Regions from separate parts of the Homo sapiens genome. Here region 2 is linked to region 1. The links are contacts of gene promoters, found by promoter capture Hi-C in blood cells and fetal thymus (Javierre and others, 2016). All regions are on one chromosome and are shown on one strand. The core of a region is centred on a gene start or on the middle of the fragment in contact, and the rest is flanking DNA. Distances in the headings are between cores, read along the strand shown. Region 1 holds the start of LGSN (lengsin, lens protein with glutamine synthetase domain). Region 2 overlaps EYS (eyes shut homolog).

Evidence for each region. Contacts are between HindIII fragments. The CHiCAGO score rates a contact against its expected background, and 5 or more counts as called.
Region 2: a contact is called between a fragment that was not itself captured here and the fragment with the promoter of LGSN in region 1, in 9 of 17 cell types (M2 macrophages, M1 macrophages, endothelial precursors and 6 more). The highest score is 8.0, in M2 macrophages.

The regions. Positions count from the first base shown.
Region 1 is chr6:63,317,310-63,323,213 of GRCh38, forward strand. LGSN (lengsin, lens protein with glutamine synthetase domain) reads right to left here and starts at 2,674. Exons shown (of 4, transcript NM_016571.3): 1 at 2,605-2,674. The coding sequence starts at 2,634. The HindIII fragment of the contact is 640 bases long and covers 2,258-2,897 here.
Region 2 is chr6:63,784,680-63,790,732 of GRCh38, forward strand. It overlaps EYS (eyes shut homolog), which reads right to left. Exons shown (of 43, transcript NM_001142800.2): 38 at 4,379-4,545; 39 at 3,426-3,570. Among named protein-coding and RNA genes, the nearest start is that of SCAT8, 19 kb to the right of the region's middle. The HindIII fragment of the contact is 9,890 bases long and covers 1-6,053 here.

The sequences.
Region 1 (5,904 bases), core at 1,424-3,923:
GTCCCAGTGAGGTACAGAGAAGTCCAATACTTTGCCCCATGTCACACAGCTAGTAAGTAGCAGAGCCAAGATTAAAATGCAGGCATTCTCATTTCAGGAAGTGCGAGCTTAATCCACTGCCCTTGAAACTCAAATCTAATTTTTGTCTTGTCTCTCCACTGAGAATTCTTAAATGGAGAGCTAGTTGATACACTGGAAGTAGGTAAGTTTGAGGTAAATAATTATAAAATGAACTATAAACCTTGAAATCTTCAGAAGACAAATCTTCTGAATTCTCAGAGACAAAACAAATGGAAAATACAAAACAAGAATCAGGAGGTCTCTAGAGTCACACAGACAATAGCATAAAGCAGGGAAAGCTGGGGTAGGTAAATCTCTAGCCTCTTGAAGCAAGCCTCTAGAAGGTCAGGTAGAGCCTCCCATGGGGCTGCACTTCATGCCCCCAACAGATACAGGCTGCAGAGCAGGATGAGTCTCTGACTTCACCCCAGATGGCATTCATTCCTTCTGTGATATGGAAACGTCAGAACTGTGTCTACCTGTGTCAGTGTTCTCTGTATTGAGTTATAAATATCTGCAGGGTGGGGAACAGATCTTACTCACTTGACATATTACCCAGCTCAGCACCACACACAAGGTTCTTGATAAACAGATTTTAATTGTTATGATATGCCACTCTTTCACTCAATTTCACAATTTCATACACCCATAGGATCTACTTTAAGAAGTAAGAATGTGTTTTCAATCTATTTTTTGTCTGCCACTGCTAAGAATGTAGCTGAATGCATGACTTTACAGCATTGTTTTAAATAGAGAATCTCAGTAAAATATTCTTTAGGGGAGTACCAAACCTAAGATTAATAACTGTTCATTTTACTGAATATTCTGACAAAGAATTTCTTCAGACTGGGGAAGTAAGTATTCTGAGGGATTTTCTCCATATACACAATCTGCCCTTCGGAATCCACTGAGCTTTTGTTCAGCTGCTGTGTTTTGTAGTTAACTTCATGCTGCTCTTGCTCACATTACCAGAGCATCTAGCATGAAACACAGTCTTGTCCTTTTCCAAACATCTGTTAGCTGGAAAAGGAATGTCACATGTCATCTCTCTCCCTCCTTCCATATTCTTTCACTTCCTGAGAATGCGAACCTATACAGGAGAGTATAAAAGAGCTTATTCAGTGGAGTTGGGTCAAGTGGCCAGCCAAGATTCACCTTTATTACATCTAGTAAATACAATGCTCTATTCCAACTTTGAGGGAACTTTTCCTCAAAAGACAGAGAATGTCTCTTGCTGTGAGAATTGTGCAGTTTAAAAATCATATTGTTCATTTTTCTGCTCTCCTAAGAGTAAACAATCAACATTTGGTCTAGACTGGTCTTGAGGAGGGCATGGCTTTTAAGGACTTTCATGGGAGCTGTATCACCTGGAATCCTGGACTAAAATTGTGGGAGCTGGGGAAGAAAGCAGAGTTCTGCCATGGGATCAGAAGTAGTAAGTAAAACTAGTCCAAGAAGTTACATAGTTAGAAATCAAAATCCCAAAAAGCTAATGATGTATATGCTAATTACCTTTACTTTCTTTCTATAAGCCTTCCTTTGCAGCTATGAATTTACTTTTAGCTAAATTCATTATAATCACATAAACATGTCCACCATTTGATGCCTACAACAGTGACATGACAGTACAGGATAAGCCACAGCTCCTCCTCAGGGAGTGCCTTCTTCACATAGCCTTGCCCAGTTTCCCTTAGGGAAAGTGCATTTGTTCTTGACTCTATTTCAAAACAACTGCTTGTATTCACTATACAGATCAGTGAACCCATTCTTAGATGTTAGCTATCTTCTCCACTACATGCAAAAGTGGGGACCAGGTTTGTTCTCTATATGCCACTATTTCATACATAATGCACTGGTCTTCCACTGCACTCTTCACATAGTAGGTATGCTTCTTGCATTATATTTTCTTAACCTACTAAAGATAACTCACATCCTCCCAAATTTTACCACAGCTTGCCTCCAAGTCTGCACTTCAGTCTTTCAGAATGGTCAGTCAGAAATACAAGAGTGAAGGTTGGGTACACACACATTAAGAAGTGAGGAGAAATGTTATATGTTGACAACTGATTATTTTAATATATGCTAGACCCTATAAGTGGCTATCATTATTCATGCTGTGCATTTCAAATATAATTTGAAAACAGGTTTCCACCTTTAGTCATTTAATCTCAAAGCATATTTATTAGAAAGAGGCCAAAGCTTTGAGAAAAACAAAGATTATTCTCTCAATAACAACCAAAATAGAAATAAATTTTTTTATAGCATACTTATGCTTCTGAAACTCAGTGCCTATTGAACTTAAATGATTATTCAAACCAAATGAGCTTTCCTAGATGAATATTTTGAATTGTTTAGTTTTTATTATCTTTATAAATTCACTGTGTAGTACAGAAGGGCAATTCTTCATAAACTTCTCCTGAGTGGACATATAACAAGTATAATTATGCTGCCCTTATTCTTACTGGCATTCAAATAATTGACATTTTTTAAAAAGATTTACTGTCAATATTTTGGTTAAAAACATTTTAATGATTAGCTTCATACCTCCTGCAGAAGGTCCTCTTCATTATTCATCTCAACACTTTTTAAGTTCAGCGTTAGAAACCACAATATCCTCAACAAATGCATTCAACATGTATTTATATGTGTACCTACAACAAAGACTGCAGATGATGAATTCCATAGAGGCTTTTCCAGAGGGGTCTGGCAGGTAATAAAAGATAAACATCAGATTCTGATGTGTCATGCCCAAGGCACAGTATGCTGGAAATGCACTAGAAGAATCGAATGACAAATGCTTGTTTACGCCTGACTCCCTGCAAACAAAAGACATACAAAGCTTAAAATTGTGTTGGTTGATTTTTTTCTCCAACATACAGAATTTTTGTTACATAACAATTGTATTCTGGAATGATATCTATTGTCAGATTCAGATGATGAAACACTTATTAGACGACTATGCTATCAAAGCCCACAGACAAAAGCACAGATGGAAAAATACAGCTATAAGTGACCCAGATTTTTACCAATGGCAAAGATCCACTCATTTGTAATTCTCATTTTTATTTTCTTTTCTAGGTCCCTCTGGCCTCCAAATTAATTCTGGACCTTCATTATAAAACTGAAATATCTTTCTTTAGCTTTTCCAATTCTCCGATGTCAGTCTGTGACAAATCCCAGACCATCCCCACTGTGCACAATGAACACAGAATCATCTACAGGCTGCCCCATATGGTCCCATAAACAATCCTAACTCAGTAGAGGAAATAGGGAATGCTTTCTCTTCACTAGTAAAGGGGGTTTGAAATCACACTTCTGCTGCTATCAACTCAACTTCAAGTATTGTTGATGAAGGAGGATATGCAGTTTCTTCTGAACCAAACCAAATTCTCTCTAAGCATTTTCCATGTGGAAGTGTATAGTCTCCATGGCTAATCACTTCTTCCTGGTCTTCTGGGCCTGAGGAAGACCAAGCCAATACTTACAACCACTCAATCCTGCCTGACTCTCTTGGCCCATTTCAAAAGCCCCATTTCCTAAAGACAGTGATTAACTATTCCTATTTCCATTCCATTGGTACTTGTTCCATGACTGACTCTAAAGCTTCTGCTCTGTGTAGCCTGATCTACAACCAGATCTTGAATTTGGACCTAGTTCTGATGCTGATGCCAGCCTGAAACTGCATCCTGAATATGGCTGTTTTGGACTCTTGAACCTCCCCAAGAAAAGGGATTCTATCTCCTATCCTAGTATTTGACTTGCTCTTGGTGCTTTCCCCCAGATCTCTAGTAGGGTGTTTAATTCCCACAATGTCTTGTACCAGAGCCTTACCTAAGTTTTTCTCAATCCTCTTCTGAGACCACATTTGCTTCCACTTTTACAACTTTTTCTTGCATGTGCTTGTCTCCATGCAAAACAGGTGCCATTGAGCTATGGAAAAAAATGTTTTGTGAAAAATTTCGTTTTTGTTTCAGAAATGTTCCCTTTCCTATATCAAAGAAAAGAACTCCAAGCTGGTTTACATGTTCAGTTACATATTGGGACATGTTTTAAAAAAATCATTCCTTTATAGTACTACTTACCCAAATTTTCTCCTGGGAGTTTTATTGTTATTGAATATGCAATTTGATTCATTTCATCTTCTTTTCCTTACCTTATTTTGACAATCTCTTCTTCTCAATGTGTATCCATGATTTTTTTATAATATCCTTTCCTGAACCTTGATTTGCCCATTTTTGTAAAAAGTGTTCTAAAGCTTGGTTGGACATATGGTGTATAACCTAATTTATGGTATTAGCATGATACATATTTTAAAAGTATTACCATTATTTAGAATCAGTTTTTCCAAAGGAAAAACCAAATGTCAGTAAAGGGCTTAACAAATAGATTAGAAAAATAATAAATGGTCAATAAGTCCATATTAAACACTTTCATTCACAAGCATTTGTTCAATCTGTACTATATCCAGAAAGCTATCTTAGTCAAAATGAATATAGTCATTGAGCCATGAATGTAAATGATACAAGTCTTTCTCTTACCACTCTTCTGAGACAACATATGGAAAGACCGTTCAACTCAAGTACTTCTCCTGCCAAAAAGTTGTAATCTAATTGAATGGATCCAGAGAAGAGTAACTAAAATGATTAAAGGAATTATGGGATTCATTTCATGAGAACAGATTGCAGAAGCTAAAGCTTACTAAGTACCAACAAGGGGAAACAATATGTTGTTTACCACTAAGTTACTGCCTTCTGATGAATTATTGAACAGGATTGGAAGAGCAAAGGATGCAAATTAGGTAAAGGATTAAATCTATTCTTTCACTGTGGGAGAAAATGAAATCACAATGAATCTGTTTTTGTTTCATGTTTACATATATTATATGTTACAGTACAGTGTATAAAATACAAAGTTCTTGTCTTCCCAGCACTAACTGATAAGGAAATAGGGTGAAAACATGCCCAATGAGACCAAGGGAATAACTGACTTGTGAGAATAATAGCCAAGTTCAGTGAAGGAAATAATCTTTCTTATGACCTTCATGAATCACAAAAATATGGTTTCAGGTCAGCATAAGAACATAACAACCACGACAGAAGGATACTTCCACCCTACCTTTCTCCCGATTTGTTGTTGTTCTAGAAGCTGCATGGGTTTGTTCCTCCTTTATATGCATCTAATTATGACATACCTAACAGGAAGACTACATTGACACCCTTTATTGAAGATAACATCATACAAAAATTATAAGGAGTAATATTTGAGCTTCCCTAGTGGTTCTAGAACTCCTGTTCACAAAGGCCCCCAAAAGTTCCTTTCATGAATCCAGTCCCCATTTCTTTTCAGTTCTTCCCAGAAATACCTCATTTTCTAAGAAAATGGTAGATCTGTTTACAGAATTAAGATTTAAAACCGATGATTAAAAAATATTGGAGTGAGGACAGGTAGAAAATCAGTGAATTCAGGGCTGAGCGGAAACACACATTGGCAGGGAAACTGAAGAATATTTTTGTGTGTCCTTTTCATTTGTTTCAGAAAGGGAATTTCTCCTCTCATCTGCCCCTTCGATAAACCTAAGTAAGCAATGAGTAGAAAACAGCGTAACTCCCTGAAAAAAATTATTTTGTAAAGTTGATACAATTTAAAACTAGTTTAAAATCATTTTAATTTAGCATTTTCAATGATTTTCACATATCCTTAAGCATTTATATATTTAGCACAAGCTTCATAAAGTTAAATGAAGTCAGTTGTGAAAGTGGAAGCATGAAATTCTGAATTCCAAGGCACATAAGGAGCTTGCAATCACATATAATAAGTTAAAAATTATTCCAAAACAGCCCAAGC
Region 2 (6,053 bases), core at 2,556-5,055, 470 kb after region 1:
AATCTACCCCCATGATCCAAACACCTCCCACTTGGCCCCTCCTCCAGCACTGGAGATCACAATTTGACATGACATTTGGGCAGGAACACAAATCCAAACCATATCACCATGTAAAAAATTCAGTTATTATTCTAGAGTTGACAGGGTGTCTGTTGCGTTCTAGAGCAGGAAAATGGTATAATTCATTAGCATGGCAATAGGGTTATGATGTGTCAGTTAATCAGGGAAGGGTGAGTAGTCAAAGATGACAGTAAGCCTGTCATTCTAACTTCAGTTGCATCAGAATCACCTGAAGAGCTCATTAAAATACATATTACTGGGCCCCATTCCCTGAGTTTCTGGTTCAATTACAATTTGCATCTCTAACAAACTTCCCAGTGATGCTGATATTGCTGACCCAGGGACCACATTTTGAGAACCACTGTACAAAGGATTCAAACAAGTATTAGAGGGACTGGTAGCAATAGTAAAAGAAATAAGTAAAGAAGTATATTCAGAAAAGGCATTTGTGGTGAAGATGAGATGTTTCACTTCAGTTATTCTGCTTCTATAGCTGCCTTTAGCACAATTAACAGCTCAGCAAGATTATCTACAGGCAACAGAACTTCTAGTGAAAGGACCCAGCTTATTTTCACTTGTGGCCTAACCAGTTTTACTTGTTTCTTCCCCTTATTCCTCCTTTCCCTTCTTCCATATCTTCTTGTCTTCCTTCCTTCATTCCGTGCCCAGTCTGAGACCACCATTCATGAGCCTCATTCTGAGAACTCTGCAGCTTTGTAGCAGATGCAACTTTGGAAAGCAGAGGAGAGGAGAACTGATCTTATTAGGGCAGATAAAACAGTAAGGCACAGCGTATTTGGCAGATGTAGATTATTTAAGGTGGTTAGTCTCAATACCTTTATGAGCATTAAAGGTCATAGAAAAAATAATGGTTCATTATAAGCCATTTTTTAGAACAAAAACAAATGTGCTTTATTAGCAGTAAGGATTTATATTTTAGATCACGAACTTTGGATTAGAGTTATTTATCAAGAGTTTATAGGAATCGGCTGGGCACGGTGGCTCAAGCCTGCAATCCCAGCACTTTGGGAGGCCGAGGCAGGCGGATGGCTTGAGCCCAGGATTTCAAGACCATCCTGGGCAACCTGGAAAATCCCTGTCTCTAATAAAAATACAAAAATTAACTGGGTGTGATGATGCAGTTCTCAAGTTCATGGATAGTAGGCCAGACCTGGTTGAGTGACTGAGAACACTATAAGAACAGACCTTTGACCAAGTACCCTGGGACTAGGATCTACCAAAAAGCTATCTTCACCAAATGAATTGTTATTACAATTTAAAGCATGTCTTTATTTTATAACTCTACTACAATATAAATCAGCTTTGTAAGGATATGTTAGCTGGGTTTAGTGGCTCAGCTACATGAGAGGCTAAGGTGGGAGGATTGATTGAGCCCTGGAGATGAAGGTTGCAGTGAGCTGAGATGGCACCACTGTACTCCAGCCTTGATGACACAGCGAGACTCAAAAAAAAAAAAAAAAAAAGGTAAAGTAAAATAAAAATAAAGAGTTTATAAAAATGTAAAAGCCTAGATCAGATAATATTTTATTGCATTATTTAATTGTAATTCTAAGGACAAATGTGATATCCTTACTCCAACTATTAAATTCTTTCAGAAAATTCCATTTGCTTTGCTTCGTTATGATTAATTAATGTGGTGGCTTCCACATCATTCTCAGCAAATTAACCCAGGAACAGAAAATGAAACACCTCATGTTCTCACTCATAAGTGGGAGTTGAACAATGAAAATGCACGGACACAGGGAGGGGAACATCACATACCGGGGCCTGTCAAGGGGTGGGGGGCAAGGGGAGGGAGAGCCTTAGGACAAATACCTAATGCATGCAGGGCTTAAAACCTAGATGATGGGTTGATGAGTGTAGCAAACCACCATGACACATGTATACTATGTAACAAACCTGCACATTCTGCACTTGTATCCTAGAACTTAAAGTTAAAAAAAAAAAGAGATAATTTAAAAAATATATGGTGGCTTCCAAATCTGGGAGGCTTGTTAAAATGCAAATTTTTAGATCCCACTGTAAAGATTTCAATTCAATAGTTCTTGGGTAGGGTTCAGAAATCTGTGTTTTTAAGAAGTTATCCTATATTATTCTTCAGAACCAGTAGAGATCAGCTTTGGGAACCATGGATTTATGGTACAGTTGCAATTTGGTTGTCCTGGTAAGTTGGTAACAATACGCCATGATTTATAATAAATAGTAAATGCTAGTTTAGAGTGGAGGGAAGGCAGACATTAAGAGAGGATCCAAGAGAAGAATGATAAAATTAGGGGATCTCAAGGTCCTGAATTTTCTATAAGACTGTGGCATAAGTGGCAATTTCCAAGAAGACTTGCCCAAGATTCCCATACTCACTAAAGACTGTGGCAGTTGACATACTTCCAGGAGTGTGCAATCTTAATGTTTCTGTAAGAGAAAGGGCCAGCTCTGTGTGTGCTGATCTCATTTGAACACGGAACTATTTGAACACAGGAAGACAGACTGTGGCAATAAGATTGCTCACCCAAGCACAATGTTGTCCTTAATCCTCTTGGCTTGCTCTGGCCTCTGTGGGCTACCCCTTGGTGGTATGGATGGGTTGACTGCAGTCTGTCTCTTGCCTTTTGAACTTCAAAGTTAGATGGACTTTCAATTTTTACTGTGACTCTTTGAAGTCTACCCTGCTCAGCCTATTTTAAAAAGCACCCTGTATAAACAATTACCCATAATCCTGATTCCTTTAAATCATGCTCTCCATTTCCCTTTTCCCATTGAACTTATCACATTATATGACTATATAATTAACTAATTACATTTAGTGTTTATCTCTCCAACTAGTTATAAGTGCAGAAATCTTTGATTTGTTCATTAAAACATCCTAAACATCTAGTACATATGTAGTAAGTGGTCAATAAATAGTAAATGAGGCTGGGCATGGCCTGTAATCCCAGCACTTTGGGAGGCCAAGGCAGGCGGATCACCTGAGGTCGGGAGTTCGAGACCAGCCTGACCAACATGGAGAAACCTCATCTCCTAAAAATGCAAAATTAGCTGGGCGTGGTTGTGCATGCCTGTAATCCCAGCTACTAGGGAGGCTGAGGCAGGAGAATCACTTGAACCCAGGAGGCAGAGGTTGTGGTGAGCCCAGATTGCATCATTGCACTCCAGCCTGGGCAACAAGAGCGAAACTCCATCTAAAAAAAAAATAGTAAATGAATGTTTCTGATTAAAATCAAACTTTGTTCAAGTCTGAAAGCAATCCATATAGCTGGTTTGGGAAATAGAAGTATACTCTTTAAAATATTTTTTTCCCTCAACATTTGAAATAAGTAGGTATAATATAAAAAATGTCCATGCCTTACCTTGAAAACCATTTTTAAAATCTGCTCCATTTGGTAAGAGATCTGGAGTGTATTCACTGTAGCCACCTACATAAAACTGACTGAAGACATTGAGACCAACCAGTCTTCCTGGGGCGATAATGGATTTATTTTTATGATCATCTACCTTCGAAAGGGAAAAAAAACCTATTAAAAAAGGAATTAATTCCCCAGGGTGAAATGTTAAGATACTCTTTTGTTATTTCCCATTAACTTGGCATGAAAAATTTACAAAGACCTGAATTTTGAAGAAATAACATGATACCACTCAATTCTCTGCTTCTCTGCTGGTGTCTGTTACCAGGGATATATTAATATAGCAGTCATGGTTTTGCATTTCAATCAAAATCAAAGTTCTTCAAAGATTAGGTGCTGGCATCCTGCTGATTCCCCTCCATTTAGCCTTCCTCCTCTGCTATCAATTCTCCATAGAACCACCAGAGTCCTTTATCAAAAATTAGAAATCAACATGGTACCCACCTTCCTAAGTAGCTCTTCATAGTTCTTTAGATAAAAATATAAACTTCTTAGCACATCTAAGCCCTTTGATAATATAGACCTTATCTGTCTCTAACCACTTCTCTAGCTCCCCCATCCCCCAACCTAAAAACCATGCTGAACTACTTGCATTCCTTAAGCTAATACTGGCCATTGTTCTCTTTCTTAACTCCTATTTGAAGTTACGCTCAAGCATCACCTTCTCTGGGAAGCACTTTCTGAATCCTCTCTCTCACCCTTATCTGTGTTAGTAATCCCTCTTATTTGTTCTCACACCACTTAATTGTAATCATCTCTCTATTCCCCTAGTTGGTACAATAGTCTGTGAACTTCGTGGATGTAGGCATCATGGGCTATTCACCTCTGTATCTTAGCACAGATCTGACAATATACTAGTGCTCTCAGTTTGTGGAAGTGACGAAGGAATGACTCTTTACCTTCAGCCAGCCCTCTTGGAAGAACTTGCCCAGATGAACAGTGTGGACTCCAAGGCTCAGATTGAGGGGCTCGCTCCTGATGCTTGCTATGCCAGACCCCAGGTTATAACTATAAACCACACTGCCATTGAGCAGGCCCACAGCCAGGAAGTCATCGCCATTCAACCCTGGAATGAGAAGACACATGGGGAATGCTCACTGAGAGGAAATTCAGGAGTTCCGTCAGCTTTATTTTACTGACTGGTTCTGAATTACAGATCAGTATGGTAAGTTATAATACATATTTAGTCTCTAGTCAGCATTTAGGTATATGTGCAACTGGCTGTTGTTATTCCCAGCCCCAGAAACAGAGCACCAAGAGTTTATGTCTTTGAAGCCATGAGGGTTCTGGTCAACCTGGGGAATGATCAATGATCAACTAAAAAGTTGAATGGGATTAAAATCTCCTTTTGTCGGAGTGAAATTCAGTGTGCACTTTACAATAAGGAGAACTTCACAATGGAGTAGAATTGCTCCGGTAGCTAACGAGATTCAAAAGGCTGAGATGACCTAGCATCAGCTTTGAAGTTCTTTCTATGATTTGAGAATAGGATAAAGACCAATTTATTCCTATGATTGCTAAGAATATGTTATCATTATTCTATTACAAAAGCTCTTAACCATGCCCCATGACCATTTAAAGGTGGATTGTTTCTGTGTTCCCTCTTCTCTCTCTCCTTCCATTAGTTCAGAGCCATCCATGCAGTACAGTGAGTTCCAGGACCCAGAACACTCAGGAGACAGTTCTTAAAGACCCACGGGACAAAGGAAGTGGTTGGGAGTGACCCAGCATTAATCACTAGGGGAAGGTGCTAGCAGTATCCTTGGCGGGATTAAGAAGTTCTGGGATGATCCATCAGTATATAGCAAGAGATCTGTTCACAGGAAGCAGAGACCCAAATACGTCACCCAGCTTCTGAAAGGTGTGTTAGTGGGTGGGGCAAAAGAAGAATTCAATACTGAGGCTAGCAGTCAGGAAACTGAGGCAAAGACTTCTGCTTAGAGGAAGAACGTAAGAACCCCCTAGAAGTAAGAGGTTTAAGCATGGGAGAAAAAGCTGAATTGAGTCCTTGACATAGAAAAAATTTATTATGAGTATGCACAGCCTCCTCCTTCTGCATTTATAGGAATGATGCTTTGTCTGTTGACTGGGCTTCTAGTATTACTTTGATCAGGGTAAAGGAGAGAAAGATCTACAGGGAGGTAGGTTTCCAGATAGGGTGGAGAGGTGGGCTTCCTGAGGCACTGGAAAGTGGAAGACAGAAATATTATTTAGAGATACTTGAACGCTGCCTCTGCTTTTCTAAAGGGTCTGCCATGGGCCCTGAGCAGGGTTACTTTTGAAAGCTCTCTAGGTGAGTCTAATATATACAGTCATGGTTAAGAGCAACTGTATTAAGTGACCTACCATAGACCGAGTACATTGGGAACTTATGGCAAGTCTCTTTTTCACTTCCTCACATTCTGGTGATTTCTTCCCACCTGCAATGCTGCATCAGGTTAGCTGGGTTGTATATTTAAAACGGAAAGTTCAATGTTTCAAGAGAAAACATAGATTCAGGAAGGCAGTTAGAAAGGCAGAAAGGAGAAAACAATACTAGAGATTGGAGATAGTCTTTCAGGCAGCTGTTGGGAT